Regions from separate parts of the Homo sapiens genome. Here regions 2 and 3 are each linked to region 1. The links are contacts of gene promoters, found by promoter capture Hi-C in blood cells and fetal thymus (Javierre and others, 2016). All regions are on one chromosome and are shown on one strand. The core of a region is centred on a gene start or on the middle of the fragment in contact, and the rest is flanking DNA. Distances in the headings are between cores, read along the strand shown.

Region 1 (4,357 bases), core at 750-3,249:
CTGACTTCGTGATCCGCCCGCCTCGGCCTCCCAAAGTGCTGGGATTACAGGCGTGAGCCACCGCGCCCAGCCGGCAGCAATATTTTATAAAGGAATCAAAAGAAAAGTAAAGCAAACATTTGAAGTAGTTCAGATAAGCAGCCTGCTTCATGCACAGTTCACAAGGAAAACCCTCTGTCAGAAGGTAAATGATATTTCCAAGCTTGGAAGCCAAACTGTGACTGCTGAAATGGAGCCCCCCAGGGCGGGTCAGTCCCAGATGATGAGGCAGAGAAAATTAAGGATTTATCTGGGAGTTTGAAATGCCCTTCTGTCCCCTCCTCAGTTTAGAAATTATTCTCTCCTTTAAGACCTTCATTTTCACCAACAGGAAGCTCTCGACTTGAGTCAGTTTAAGCTAAATTTACTGTTAAATTCATAAACCCGCAGGGCGCGGTGGCTCACGCCTGTAATCCCAGCACTTTGGGAAGCCGAGGCGGACGGATCACGAGGTCAGGAGATCGAGACAATCCTGGCTAACACGGTGAAACCCCGTCTCTACTAAAAATACAAAAAATTAGCCGGGCGTGGTGGCAGGCGCCTGTAGTCCCAGCTACTTGGGAGGTTGAGGCAGGAGAATGGCATGAACCCGGGCGGGAGGCGGAGCTTGCAGTGAGCCGAGATTGCGCCACTGCACTCCAGCCCGGACGACAGAGCGAGACTCCGTCTCAAAAAAAATGATAATAAATACAATAAAATAAAATAATAAATAAAAATTCATAAACCCTTTCTCCAGGAGGCATCCCAAATGGGTCTTGCTCTAATTCTGACCTTCACAGATTTTCTTTTTCTTTTTCTTTCTTTTTTTTTTTTGAGACAGTCTAGCCCTGTCGCCCAGGCTGGAGTGCAGTGGCGCAATCTCGGCTCACTGCAAGCTCCGCCTCCCGGGTTCACGCCATTCTCCTGCCTCAGCCTCCCGAGTAGCTGGGACTATAGGCGCCCGCCACCGCACCCGACTAATTTTTTGTATTTTTAGTAGAGACGGGGCTTCTCCGTGTTAGCCAGGATGGTCTTGATTTCCTGACCTCGTGATCCGCCCGCGTCGGCCTCCCAAAGTGCTGGGATTATAGGCGTGAGCCACCGCTCCCGGCCGTAAAGATTTTTAAATAATAAAAACAGGGGTCTAGGGTGGGGGGATGTGGGAGGGATAACATTAGGAGATATACCTAATGTAAATGACGAGTTAATGGGTACAGCACACCAACATGGCGCATGTATACATATGTAACAAACCTGCACATTGTGCGCATGTACCCTAGAACTTAAAGTTTAATAAATAAAAATTAAAAAAAAAAAACAACAAAACAGGGGTATTCTTGTGTTGACCAAGTTGGTCTTTAACTCTTTACTTTAAGGGATCCTCCAGTCTTGGCCTCCCAAAGTGCTAGGATTACAGGCGTGAACCACCGCACCCTGCCTGTGTTCAGGTCACAATCTCTTCTAGCTTGGATAAAGGGAAAGAAATAAAGGGGGAGAGGGCATGGTTTCATCAATGGAGATTCTCTGCAGATGCAAATTCCCCCCCTCCAAAGACAGCTTTGCCAGTCCACTTTTTTTTGCGGCCGAGCCACAGCCATTTCAAAATCTGTCAAATAAATATATTTTGGCGTAAAATATTTTAATTTCCTTCACCTCCACTGGACTCTGAGTCTGGAATTTCCTGTGCAAGACAAAGGAGCAGGGACAGCCCATTGAGTGAGGAAGACAACGGTACCCCCTCTAGCAATTCGGAGCAAATTTGGCTGAAATGCAAATACCCAAAGAGCAAGACGCAGGGAGGGAGCTCGCTTAGATAATCTGTGGTTGGAACAGGTCATTTCGGTTCTGCCGGGCCTTGTTACCCAGGGCTTCCGCTGTCACTCAGGACCGATGGGACGGGGACTGGAGCCTCATCCAATCAGGGGCGCTGGGGCGGGGTCCTGCCAACTGTCCATCCGGGGAAGGGGAGGCCGCATTCCCGCTTTCCTGACTCCCAGGCGTCTTGCACCAAAGGGAGGTCGGGATCTCGGTTTTCCGGCCCCGAGAGGGACCAGGTGCCTCCGCCATAGCTTCTGTCGCTCCATCGCCCGCACTGTGACTGGACTGTTAGAGGGATCCGTGGAGAGGAGGCCAGGACACCTGGAAGCCGGGAAATGGTGAGTGTGCGGGGCCGGGGGTCCCGAGACGGGGGAGGGGCCGGGAGGAACCGGCTCGAACCGGCTCTAGCAGGACCCAGGCCTTCCTGCAGCGACTTCGGGTCTGCAGAGCGGAGTCCCCCTGGCGTAGCTCGGCCCTCGGTCCCTTCGGCCGCAGGGTGGGGTTGGGCCGGCAGCCGGGACCCCAGGCGTCCTGTCCCGTCTCTGCGCTGCGACTGCGACCCCGGCCCTGGCCCCGGCCCCGGAGCCCTCTCTGGGGAGCTCCGCGCCCGTAGTCCCGCGTCTCCCCAGATTGTGCGGAGACCACGGGAGGGTCATGGAGGCAATCCTGCCTCGGGTGTGTGGTTCGTGTGGGAGGAGCGGTGGGCTGCGGGGTCCCCAGTCCCCCCTTTTTTCCTGAAAAACTAAATTGAAGGCCAGGCGCAGTGGGTCACGCCTGGCAGGTTGAGGCGGGGGGATTGCTTCAGCCCAGAAATTCGAGACCAGCCTAGGCAACATACCGAGACCCTAGTTTCTATTAAAAATAAATTTTTAAAAAATGAGCCGGGCGTGGTGCCGCCCACCTGTAATCCCAGCTACTGGGGGGCTGAGGTGGGAGGATCGCTTGAGGGAGGAGATTGGGACTGCAGTGAGCCGAGATCGCGCCACTGCACTCCAGCCTGGGCGACTGAGCGAGACCCTGTCTCAAACAAAACAAAACAAAAACAACAGCAACAAACTAAACTGAGTCCTCTTAAAAATTAAAGAGTTTTGCTTCTCAGAATAGGAGTTTGAAAAAAATGAATGAGAAATGTTTCCTGAATGAGAAACACCCAGTCATGGCTTGCAGTTTGATAACGGAAAGAGCAAAACTCTGCAAAATAACTTGAACTATGTTCTACGCCGAATATGAGAGAACGTGACCAAGGGAAACAACCGCATGTAGCCTCGAGTAAGTGGTCCCCAGGAGGTTCGATGGCAGTTTGGTTTTATTCATTTCAGCGAGACAGGAATTGCAGGGAAAAGATCAATCAAGGCATGGAAGGCTGACAGGGCAGGACACGTAGAAGCGGGGCTTAGAAGGCACAGGTGGTTGAGGGATTCTGTAGTTGGCAGTTGGCTGAGAGTGTGAAGTTGTGTCTAAAATTTGAAAGGGGTAGGAAGGAATGTTTAAGTGAAGGGAGTCTGTTACCTGCCACGTGATTCCATCCCCACCAAAAAACAGATATGTTTCACTAGATTTTATGAATTCTAAGGCGTGACTTTACCCTTGCCTTGCATGGCCTTAGGTCTTGTTTGCAATTTAGTATTTATTGGTACAAAGGGTTTCTTTGCAGGTTTTTTTTTTTTTTTGAGATGGAGCCTCACTCTCGCCCAGGCTGGAGTGCAGTGGCGCAATCTCGGCTTACGGCAACCTCCGCCTCCTAGGTTCAAGCAATTCTCCTGCCTCAGCCTCCCAAGTAGCTGGAATTACAGGTGCACGCCACCATACCCGGCTAATTTCTGTATTTTTAGTAGAGATGGGGTTTCACCATGTTGGCCAAGCTGGTCTCAAACTCCTGACCTCAAATAATCCGCCTGCCTCCGCCTCCCTCCGCCTCCCAAAGTGCTAGGATTACAGGACTGAGCCACTGTGCCCGGCCTCTTTGCAGGTCTTATGTCTATTTTAATATGAATGTGGGTCAGTTGCTGTGTCTAAACTCCAGAAGGGAGTATGGAGTGTCTGATCTCCCTTACTAATGTAACTGGGAACTTTCAGGTTTTTGGGGGGCCTCCCCTTGGTAAAGAGCCACTCAGTTGACTTGATTGGGGTGGGATGGGGAGCTTAGGTTTTTATTTTTAGTTTACAGGTTGAAGGATAGGCTTTTATATGGTGCATTAGAATAAAAATCAAAAAATACTTTATTGGTTACAGTGATGTAGTCGCCTTGTTTGGATTTTTCTACCTTAAATGATTGAAATGATCAGATTCCTATTATAAGGAGATTATTTAAGTGAAAATCTGAGAATTGCCATTCAAGAAAATACAGACTCTAGGGAAATGGGCTTAGAACTCCGGAGCTAAAAGTTAAACTCTTGACCTAGTGCAGTGTCCCACACCTGTAATCCCAGCTTTGTGAGGCTGAGGCAGGATGATTGCTTGAGACCAGGAGTTGGAGACCAGCCTTGGTAATACAAGACCCATGTCTAGAAAAGAAAAATAG
Region 2 (4,228 bases), core at 1,159-3,658, 180 kb before region 1:
CATCTACCCTGAATCCTCTGCCCTGAGGGTTTTTTGTTTGTTTGTTTTCTTCCTTTCTTTCTTTTTTAGACAGTGTCTCACTCTGTTGCCAAAGCTGGAGTGCAGCAGTGTGATCATAGCTCACTCCAGTCTTGACCTCCTAGACTCAAGTGATCCTCCTGCCTCAGTCTCCTGAATAGCTAGGACTACAGTTCTATGCCACCATGCTCGGCTAATTTTTATTTATTTATTTATTTATTGGTAGACATGGTGGTTTTACTCTGTTCCCCAGGCTGGTCTTGAACTTCTAGCCTTGGCCTCTCAAAGGGCGGAGTTAACAGGTATGAACCACTGCACCTGGCTTTGCCCTGAGTTTTTACACTAATATATTATTTCATGTCTCACATTAAATGTCACCTTCTCAGGGTTCTTCATACCACCTCAGTGACTCTTACATGTTTTTATTTGTAGAATTTTTTTCCTGGCACTTTTTAGATTCAGGGAAATCCAATTAAGGTTGACAGAATGTTTTGGTTTCTTAACTGTTGAAAAGTTAAATCATATAAATGAAACCAAACTGAATGGTGTTATGTTTACTTTTATCATCTGTATTGCTGTGTATGAAAGTACCCCAGAAAACCGGAAAACCATTTTTAAAAGCCTTTTTCCAGAAAGGAAAATAAAATGGCCAGACAGCGTGGCTCACACCTGTAATCCCAGCAGTTTGGGAGGCCAAGGTGGGTGGATCATCTGAGTCTAAGAGTTTAGACCAGCCTGGCCAACGTGGTGAAACCCTATCTTTACAAAAAAATACAAAAATTAGCCAGGCATGGTGGGACATGCCTGCAGTCCCAGCCTCTCGGGAGGCTGAGGTAGGAGGATCGCTTGAGCCCAGGAGGTTGAGGCTGCAGTGAGCCATGATGGTGCCACTGCATTCCAGTGTAGGTGATGGAGCGAGAGCTCGTCTCAAAAAAAAAGAGAGAAATAAGCTAACTGTTGTGGTAAGGGGTGACATTAATATTATTCACACATCCTTTCTCTGGTGCGGATTTCTCAGGGTTGTGCTGAGACCTCCAGTATTTACAGCAGCTGATAGTCACTTAGAATATTCTGTCTGTGCCCTCACTGAGCAGGTAGTGACACAGGTTAAGAAGAACAGAAGCAAATAAAATGGATGTGTCCTCACCCAAGACATTACTATCTGAGAAGACTGTTTCAAATGAATAAATGAAACTGTGGGCATGAGAACCACAGGTGAATTCAACCTGGGCCAGTTTGCTTAAAAGGAAAATGTATTTGTACAATACTTAGGATTTAGATACAGATATGACTGTTTGGGTCAATGGTGTGGGCTGGGGTTGAGAGGGGGTTTCAGATGGATAAATGGGACATGTCCATCCCCAGGCACAGAGCACATGATGTCAACCCTGAGCTATGAAGGTCAGGGAGTGACTGAAGCCAAGGAGAGAGGAGAGCTCACATTTAATTAGTTGTTTTACACAACAGTTTGCTAAGGTAAAAATAATAGTTTGTTAGCATGTTTGTTTCTCAACAGAATAATTATTTACCAGTTGGTTTTGTTTGCTTGTTTGTTTTTGAGACGGAGTCTCGCTCTGTCGCCCAAGCTGGAGTACAATGGTGCGATCTTAGCTCACCACAACCTCCACCTCCTGGGTTCACGCGATTCTCCTGCCTCAGCCTCCTGAGTAGCTGGGATTACAGGCACGCACCACCATGCCCAGCTAATTTTTAGTATTTTTAGTAGAGACGGGGTTTCACCATGTTGGTCAGGCTGGTCTTGAACTCCTGACGTTGTGATCTGCCCGCCTCAGCCTCCCAAAGTGTTGGAATTGCAGGTGTGAGCCACCGCGCCTGGCCTTGTTTTGTTTTTGAGGAACCAAGATCTCCCCGTGTTGCCCAGACTGGTCTCCAATTCCTGGGCTCAAGCAATCCTCCTGCCCCTGCCTCCTAAAGTGCTGGGATTACAGGCCCAAGGCACCATGCCCAGTCCATTTACCAGTTTCCAAATCCCTATTAAATATCTTATATATATTTTTTCCACTACTTTATATATAGACACAGGAAGAAACCCAAGATTGTCAATTTTTTATTCAAACAGTGGAATTGAGGGTCTTTGTTTCAATTAACTCATCAGTGCTGGTGAGAAGCAAGTGAAGACTCTTACAGAGGCCATGGGGAACATTCCCTTTTGCCCTCTGATGTTTTGCTGAATTAATTGGAGAGAAGGCAGATTAATTGGAGGAAAAGCATACAAATTTTATTTAACGCGTATATCCAGGAAGCTTCAGAATGAAGACCCAGAGATACAAAGGAAATTGTTCATTTTAATGCTTAGGCTTAATGTATGGACAGCCGTGTAGAAATGTGATTAGATTGAAAGAGTATGATCCAATGCTAACAGACTGAGTGGGGAAACCCAACAAGGCCTGTGTGTCTAGATTGTTCTTGGCCTTTCTGAGCATGCATTCCTTCCTTCTCAGTATGAGGCAGGACCCACTCTGAAATGGAGGGTCTTATGACCTACAGCAAGCTTGTCCAACCCATGGCCCAGGAAGGCTTTGGATGCAGCCCAACACAAATTCATGATCTTTCTTAAAACATTAGGAATTTTTGTTTTTGCTATATATTTTTAAGCTCATTAGCTATTGTTAGTGTTAGTGTATTTTATATGTGGCCCAAGACGATTCATCTTCTTCCAATGTGGCCCAGGGAAGCCCCAGGGCCACCCTGACCTGCAGTCAAACAAAGTTGGACAGTTAATTTGCTTATGGCCAGTTTTTACACAGAAAGGACAATGGAAAGTTAGAGTAGTATGTTTTGATTTTATGCCTGGATTTAGGGGAAAAGGGTTCTGGATTCTACGACCCACTTTGGAGAAGAGAGATTCTAGTTTCTAAGGCTAGCCTTGGATAGAAGAGTAGGACTAAGAGTCCCAAGAATGGGACTAAGTTTTTCCTCTGCCCTCTGTGGAGAAAAAACTTTTGCTTCTGAGGCTTCTTCCAAGGTCTTCTTTTTGGGGTATTGTTTTCTGAGCCCCAGCCACCTGGAGTGGGCAGCAGAGTTTGAACCAGTGACTCTACACCGAGCCCATTCTGAAGGCTGCAAAGGGAGAGAAATGGAGCCCCCTTTGGTGCTTCCTCAGCAGCCTGCGCACGCCTCCACGTAGCACGAAGCTGCACATAGAATCAGAATTTACCATTTATGTGTTAGGAAAATCTGGGTAAAGGGTTTATGAATTTGACAGTTTATGTAGGTCAGTACCTTAAAGTAACCTTTTTTTTTTTTTTTTTTTTTTTTTTGAGACCAGGTCTCACTCTGTCACCCAGGCTGGAATGCCGTGGCACGATCTCGGCTCACTGCAACCTCCGCCTCCCAGGTTCAAGTGATTCTCCTGCCTCAGCCTCCCGAGTAGCTGGGATTACAGGTGCCCGCCACCATGCCCAGCTAATTTTTGTATTTTTAGTAGAGATGTGGTTTCACCATGTTGGCCAGGCTGGTCTCCAACTGGTGACCTCAGGTGATTCACCCGCCTCGGCCTCCCAAAGTGCTGGGATTGCAGGCGTGAGCCACCGCCCCGGGCCCTTAAACTAACTTTACATGAAACTTTCCTGTTGGTGAAAATGCACATCTTGACGGTGGGGGCATTTCCACACTCTGCAGAGGGCACAGGGAAGTATGTTGAGCTCCCAGAGTCAAATCCTTCAGTGTCCCAGTCTCATCACCAGGTTTTGGTTCACTCTGGGGTTCCATTTCAACAGTTAAGAGTGGCTGCCAAGTTTGGGCATATGTTTAGCCTCCTGAATGGGACGTTTGCTGAAGTATGAGGGCAGCAGGCTGCTTATCTGCACTAGTTCAAGTTTTTGCTTTTTTTTTCCTGTTGTATTTTTGTTTTGATTCATTCATTCATTTATTGCTGCCGTGTGATTTCAGTTCTTCCACACATTTGATATTTTAATACCGTTCTTGACTTGTTTTTATTTCCTTGGCTGAAAATGAGCAGATTGAGAGGCAAGGTGAGAGAGGAAGGCTTAACCTTGCCGCCAAGAGTCTCATCCTCAAATCCTGATGCCCGGTGGACATCAGGCCACCCTCCTGCTGCAGTGTGGCCTGTGTGGCCTTGGGCTCCCCTCTGCTCTGAGGCCAGGGGAATGGCTCCACTGGACTGTGAGTCTGGGATTCCCTGCAAAACACTTGTGACTCCTTCTCCAGGAGGAAAAGGCAGTAAGGG
Region 3 (4,454 bases), core at 492-2,991, 210 kb before region 1:
AATTGTCATAAAAGGTGTAACTCTATTGTCTTTATCAGTGCCTCCTGCTTAAAGTGGATCTGGACTATGGATTCCTACATCTTACTTTCAGAAAAAAACACATCAAGGTGAGAGAATTCTGTAAATAAGTTCTCTTGACACATAAATTCATGAGTTGAATAGGTAGTGTTTTTTGATGAAATCAGTTAATAAAAATTTGTCTTTTATATTCCTCTAGATGATTGCATTGATTGAAGTGTATTTCTTTTTTCTCTTTTTTTTTTTGGAGATGGAGTCTTGCTCTTGTCACCTAGGCTGGAGTGCAGTGGTGCTATCTGGGCTCACTGCAACCTCCACCTCCTAGGTTCAAGCGATTCTCCTGCCTCAGCCTCCCAAGTAGCTGGGATTACAGGCGCCCGCCACCATGTCTGGATAATTTTTTTGTATTTTTAGTAGAGATGGGGTTTCACCATGTTGGCCAGGCTGGTCTCAAACTCCTGACCTCAGGTAATCCGCCCACCTTGGCCTCCCAAAGTGCTGGGATTACAGGTGTGAGCCTCCACCCCCGGCCTCTGCATGTATGTCTTCTTTGGAAAAATGTCTATTCATGTCCTTTGACTATTTTTTAATGGTGGTGTTTGTTTTTCTCTTGTAAATTTCTTTGTTTCTTATAGGTGGTAGATATTAGACCTTTGTCAGATGTATAGTTTGAAGATGTTTTTCCTATTTTGTAGGTTGTCTGTTTACTCTGTTGATAGTTCCTTTTGCTGTACAGAAGCTCTTAAATTTAATTAGATCCCACTTGTCAATGTTTTCTTTTGTTGCAATTGCTTTTGTTGTCTTTGCCATGAAATGTTTGCCTGTTCCTGTGTACAGGATGGTATTGCCTAGGTTTTCTTCCAGGGTGTTTATAGTTTGAGGTTTTACATTTAAGTCTTTATCCATCCTGAGTTGATTTTTGTATATGGTGTAAGGAAGGGGTCCAGCTTCAGTCTTCTGCCTATGGCTAGCCAGTTAAACCATAACCATTTATTGAATAGGAAGTCTTTTCCCCATTGCTTGATTTTGTCAGCTTTGTCCAAGATCAGGTGGTCATAGGTGTGTGGCCTTATTTCTGGACTCCATTCTATTCTGAATTTTTTCCTCATGGTTATATGAGTGTTTATTTTTGTCTGGAAGCTTTTGTAAGAATTTAAATCAACACAGTAATGAACTAGTTAATTGCTGCAATTTGTAAAAATATGCAAAATCTGAACATAAACCCCTGACACCACCTTTGACCCACTGCACCCTGTTTTCACAACTGTCTAGGAAAAAGTAAGTATATAATATTACTCCAAAGGCAGTTAATGTGAAAGGTTGATGAAGCATCTTACAGAAAGATGGTTGATTCTTCAGAGAGAGAACAGTCTTGTGATAATAGATTGTGAGTGTGTGTGTGCATGTGTGTGTAATTTTTAAAGGCATGAATATCATTCATTAGTTATAATCAGACATCTTTTTTTTCTTGTTTTTCAAACTTGCCAATTTGTCTTGTCAGGAAACACTACAATTATCACAAGTTGATTCAGGATTTTGTTTCATTGAATTACACTTGATGTTTGGCTTCTTTCTTTTTAGCCATGGGTTCCAGCTTCCAATTCATGATGCTTTTATATCTGGTACTTTTGTTACTGGGCCAGTCCTGGAAAAATAGCTGAGAAAGCAAAACAGCTGAAATGGCTAATTATTTTCTTTTTCTTTTCTTTCTTTTCTTTCTTTTTTTTTTTTTTTGAGATGGGGTCTCACTCTGTTGCCCAGGCTGGAGTGCAATGGTGCGGTCTTGGCTCACTGCAACCTCCGCCTTCCGGGTTGAAGCGACTCTCCTGCCTCAGCCTCCCGAGTAGCTGGGATTACAGGCGCCCACCACCACACCCAGATAATTTTTGTATTTTTAGTAGAGACGGGGTCTCACCGTGTTGGCCAGGCTGATCTTGAACTCCTGACCTCGTGATTCACCTGCCTCGGCCTGCCAAGGTGCTGGGATTACAGGCGTGAGCCACCATGCCCAGCCGCTAATTATTTTCTGAAAAAGTGGATAACATTTTTTTTTCCTAGTCTGTTTATCTTTAGGTATGCTAGCTTACTAGGACTCCAGATGGCCTGGGAGCTTCAGGACCCTTTGCCAATTATCAGAATAAGATAAGGCCTGCTCAAAACCAGAGTAAACCAGAACCAGTGACCCCTTGTTGCCTTTAGATCAGGGATCCCCAATCCCTGGGCCATGGATCGGTACCAGACTGTGGCCTGTTAGGAGCTAGGCCACACAGCAGAAGGTGAGCAGCGGGCGAGTAAGCAAAGCTTTACCTGTATTTACAGCCACTTCCCATCACTCACATTACTACCTGAGCTCTGCCTTCTGTCATATCAGAGGCAGCATTAGATTCTCATAGGAGCACGAACCCTATTGTGAGCTGCGCACACAAGGGATCCAGGTTGCATGCACCTTATGAGATTCTGGAAGATCTGTCACTGTCTCCCACCACCCCCAGAAGGGACCATCTAGTTGCAGGAAAACAAGCTCAGGGCTCCCACTGATTCTATAGTATGGCGAGCTGTACAATTACATCATTATATATTACAATGTAATAATATTTAAGTGCACAATCAATGTAATGTACTTGAATCACCCCAAAACCATCCCCACTCCAGTACATGGAAAAATTATCTTCTAAGAAACTAGTCCCTGTGCCAAAAAGGTTAGGAACTGCTGGTTTAGATCACTGATACCTTATTGTAAGATGAAAATCCCCACCCACAGAAGAAAGTCACGGCAGCTTTCTCGTCGTGTTTTTTTTTTTTTAGATGGAGTCTAGCTTTGTCGCCAGGCTGGAGTGCAGTGACACGATCTCAGCTCACTGCAACTTCTGCCTCCTGGGTTCAAGTGATTCTCCTGCCTCAGCCTCCTGAGTAGCTGGGATTACAGGCATGCACCACCACGCCCAGCTAATTTTTATTTTATTTTATTGTTTTAGTAGAGACGGGGTTTCACTATGTTACCCAGGATGGTCTCGATCTCCTGACCTCGTGATCCGCCTGCCTCAGCCTCCCAAAGTGCTAGGATTACAGGTGTAAGCCACTGCGCCCGGCCCATTGTTTTGTTTTGAGATGGAGTTTCGCTCTTGTTGCCCAGGCTGGAGTGCTCACTGCAACCCCTGCCTCCTGGGTTCAAGCGATTCTCTTGCCTCAGCCTCCCAAGTAGCTGGGATTATAGGCGTGCACCACCATGCCTGGCTAATTTCGTATTTTTAGTAGAGATGGGGTTTCTCCATGTCGGTCAGGCTGGTTTCAAACTCCCGACCTCAGGTGATCCACCCGCCTCGGCCTCCCAAAGTGCTGGGATTACAGGCGTGAGCCACTGCACCCGGCTGGCCTTTTGAACATGTGTGGTATAAAGAGACATGTTTATGATTTGTGAACATCTGAAGTTCCTTTCTACCCATATTACAAACTTCCCCTTCCCATATCTAGCTGCTTAAAATTACCCAGCTTCCCACAGCTCTAGGAGGAGGAAGTATCTTCGGAGCAAGAGCTGACTCTGACCCCTTCTCCTTCTCTGGCCAGAAAATAAATCCTGCTTGCCTTTTTTTTTTGTTCCATTAGGTATTCTTTCTTTGTGACTCATACAAACTAGAGAAAGAACTCAGTTTACCAGTGACACTTGTATTTCATACAAATATGGGAAATCTTTATATTTTCAAATTCTAATGCCTTGGCTTTTGATTGGAGCATTTAATTCATTAATATTTAAAGTCTTGAAGGAGAGAGCATTTTCACACTGCGCAGAGGACACAGGAGGGCAAGTTGAGCTCCCTCATCCCTAAATCCTTCAGTGCCTCTGCCCCATCACCAGGTGCTGATCCCACTTGTAACTGGCAAAAGGGTCTGGCTGCTCACCGCGTGTGGAAAGAAGTCAAAATAATAATGAGTTGTGATAAGAGGGAACGAGATTTCTTTATTATCTGTCCTAGCAGGGGAAGAGCAGAAAGCAATTCCACTGTTCAATTTGTGGAGAGAACCCAGGGGTTTTTAAAGAAAGGGTTTGGAATGCAGAAGAGGCAAGCGGGGCTAGAGGTACCAGGTGGCGTGACTTGCTCTGGTTGCCCCTCTTGAATTATTGTCCCATTTGGTGAAGGGACTTCTCCGTCGTGGATCCTGCCAGGTTATACATTAGTTGCAGTCAATCTTGTAGTCTGTTGCGGGAACTAAGGGACCCCGAATGGAGGGACCGGCTGAAGCCACGGCAGAAGAACATAAATTGTGACGATTTCATGGACATTTATCAGTTTCCAAAATTAATACTTTTATAATTTCTTACGCCTGTCTTTACTGCAGTCTCTGAACATAAATTGTGAAGATTTCATGGACATTTATTAGTTCCCAAAATTAATACTTTTATAATTTCTTATGCCTGTCTTACTTTAATCTCTTAATCC

What was found. Contacts are between HindIII fragments. The CHiCAGO score rates a contact against its expected background, and 5 or more counts as called.
Region 2: a fragment that was not itself captured here is called in contact with the fragment with the promoter of ZNF625-ZNF20 in region 1 in 2 of 17 cell types (total CD8 T cells and non-activated CD4 T cells); the score reaches 5.6 in total CD8 T cells.
Region 3: a contact is called between a fragment that was not itself captured here and the fragment with the promoter of ZNF625-ZNF20 in region 1, in 1 of 17 cell types (endothelial precursors). The highest score is 5.1, in endothelial precursors.

What each region holds. Positions count from the first base shown.
Region 1 is chr19:12,154,373-12,158,729 of GRCh38, reverse strand. ZNF625-ZNF20 (ZNF625-ZNF20 readthrough (NMD candidate)) reads left to right here and starts at 1,999. Exons shown (of 8, transcript NR_037802.1): 1 at 1,999-2,174. It overlaps ZNF625 (zinc finger protein 625), which reads left to right and starts at 1,996. Exons shown (of 4, transcript NM_145233.4): 1 at 1,996-2,174. The coding sequence starts at 2,172. RefSeq lists enhancers at 1,970-2,079, 1,642-2,333 and a silencer at 2,310-2,479. The HindIII fragment of the contact is 6,672 bases long and covers 205-4,357 here.
Region 2 is chr19:12,333,940-12,338,167 of GRCh38, reverse strand. It overlaps a transcript of ZNF563 not described here. Among named protein-coding and RNA genes, the nearest start is that of ZNF563, 2.4 kb to the right of the region's middle. RefSeq lists an enhancer at 3,614-4,228. The HindIII fragment of the contact is 248 bases long and covers 2,285-2,532 here.
Region 3 is chr19:12,368,271-12,372,724 of GRCh38, reverse strand. It overlaps a transcript of ZNF442 not described here. Among named protein-coding and RNA genes, the nearest start is that of ZNF442, 4.8 kb to the right of the region's middle. The HindIII fragment of the contact is 1,161 bases long and covers 1,161-2,321 here.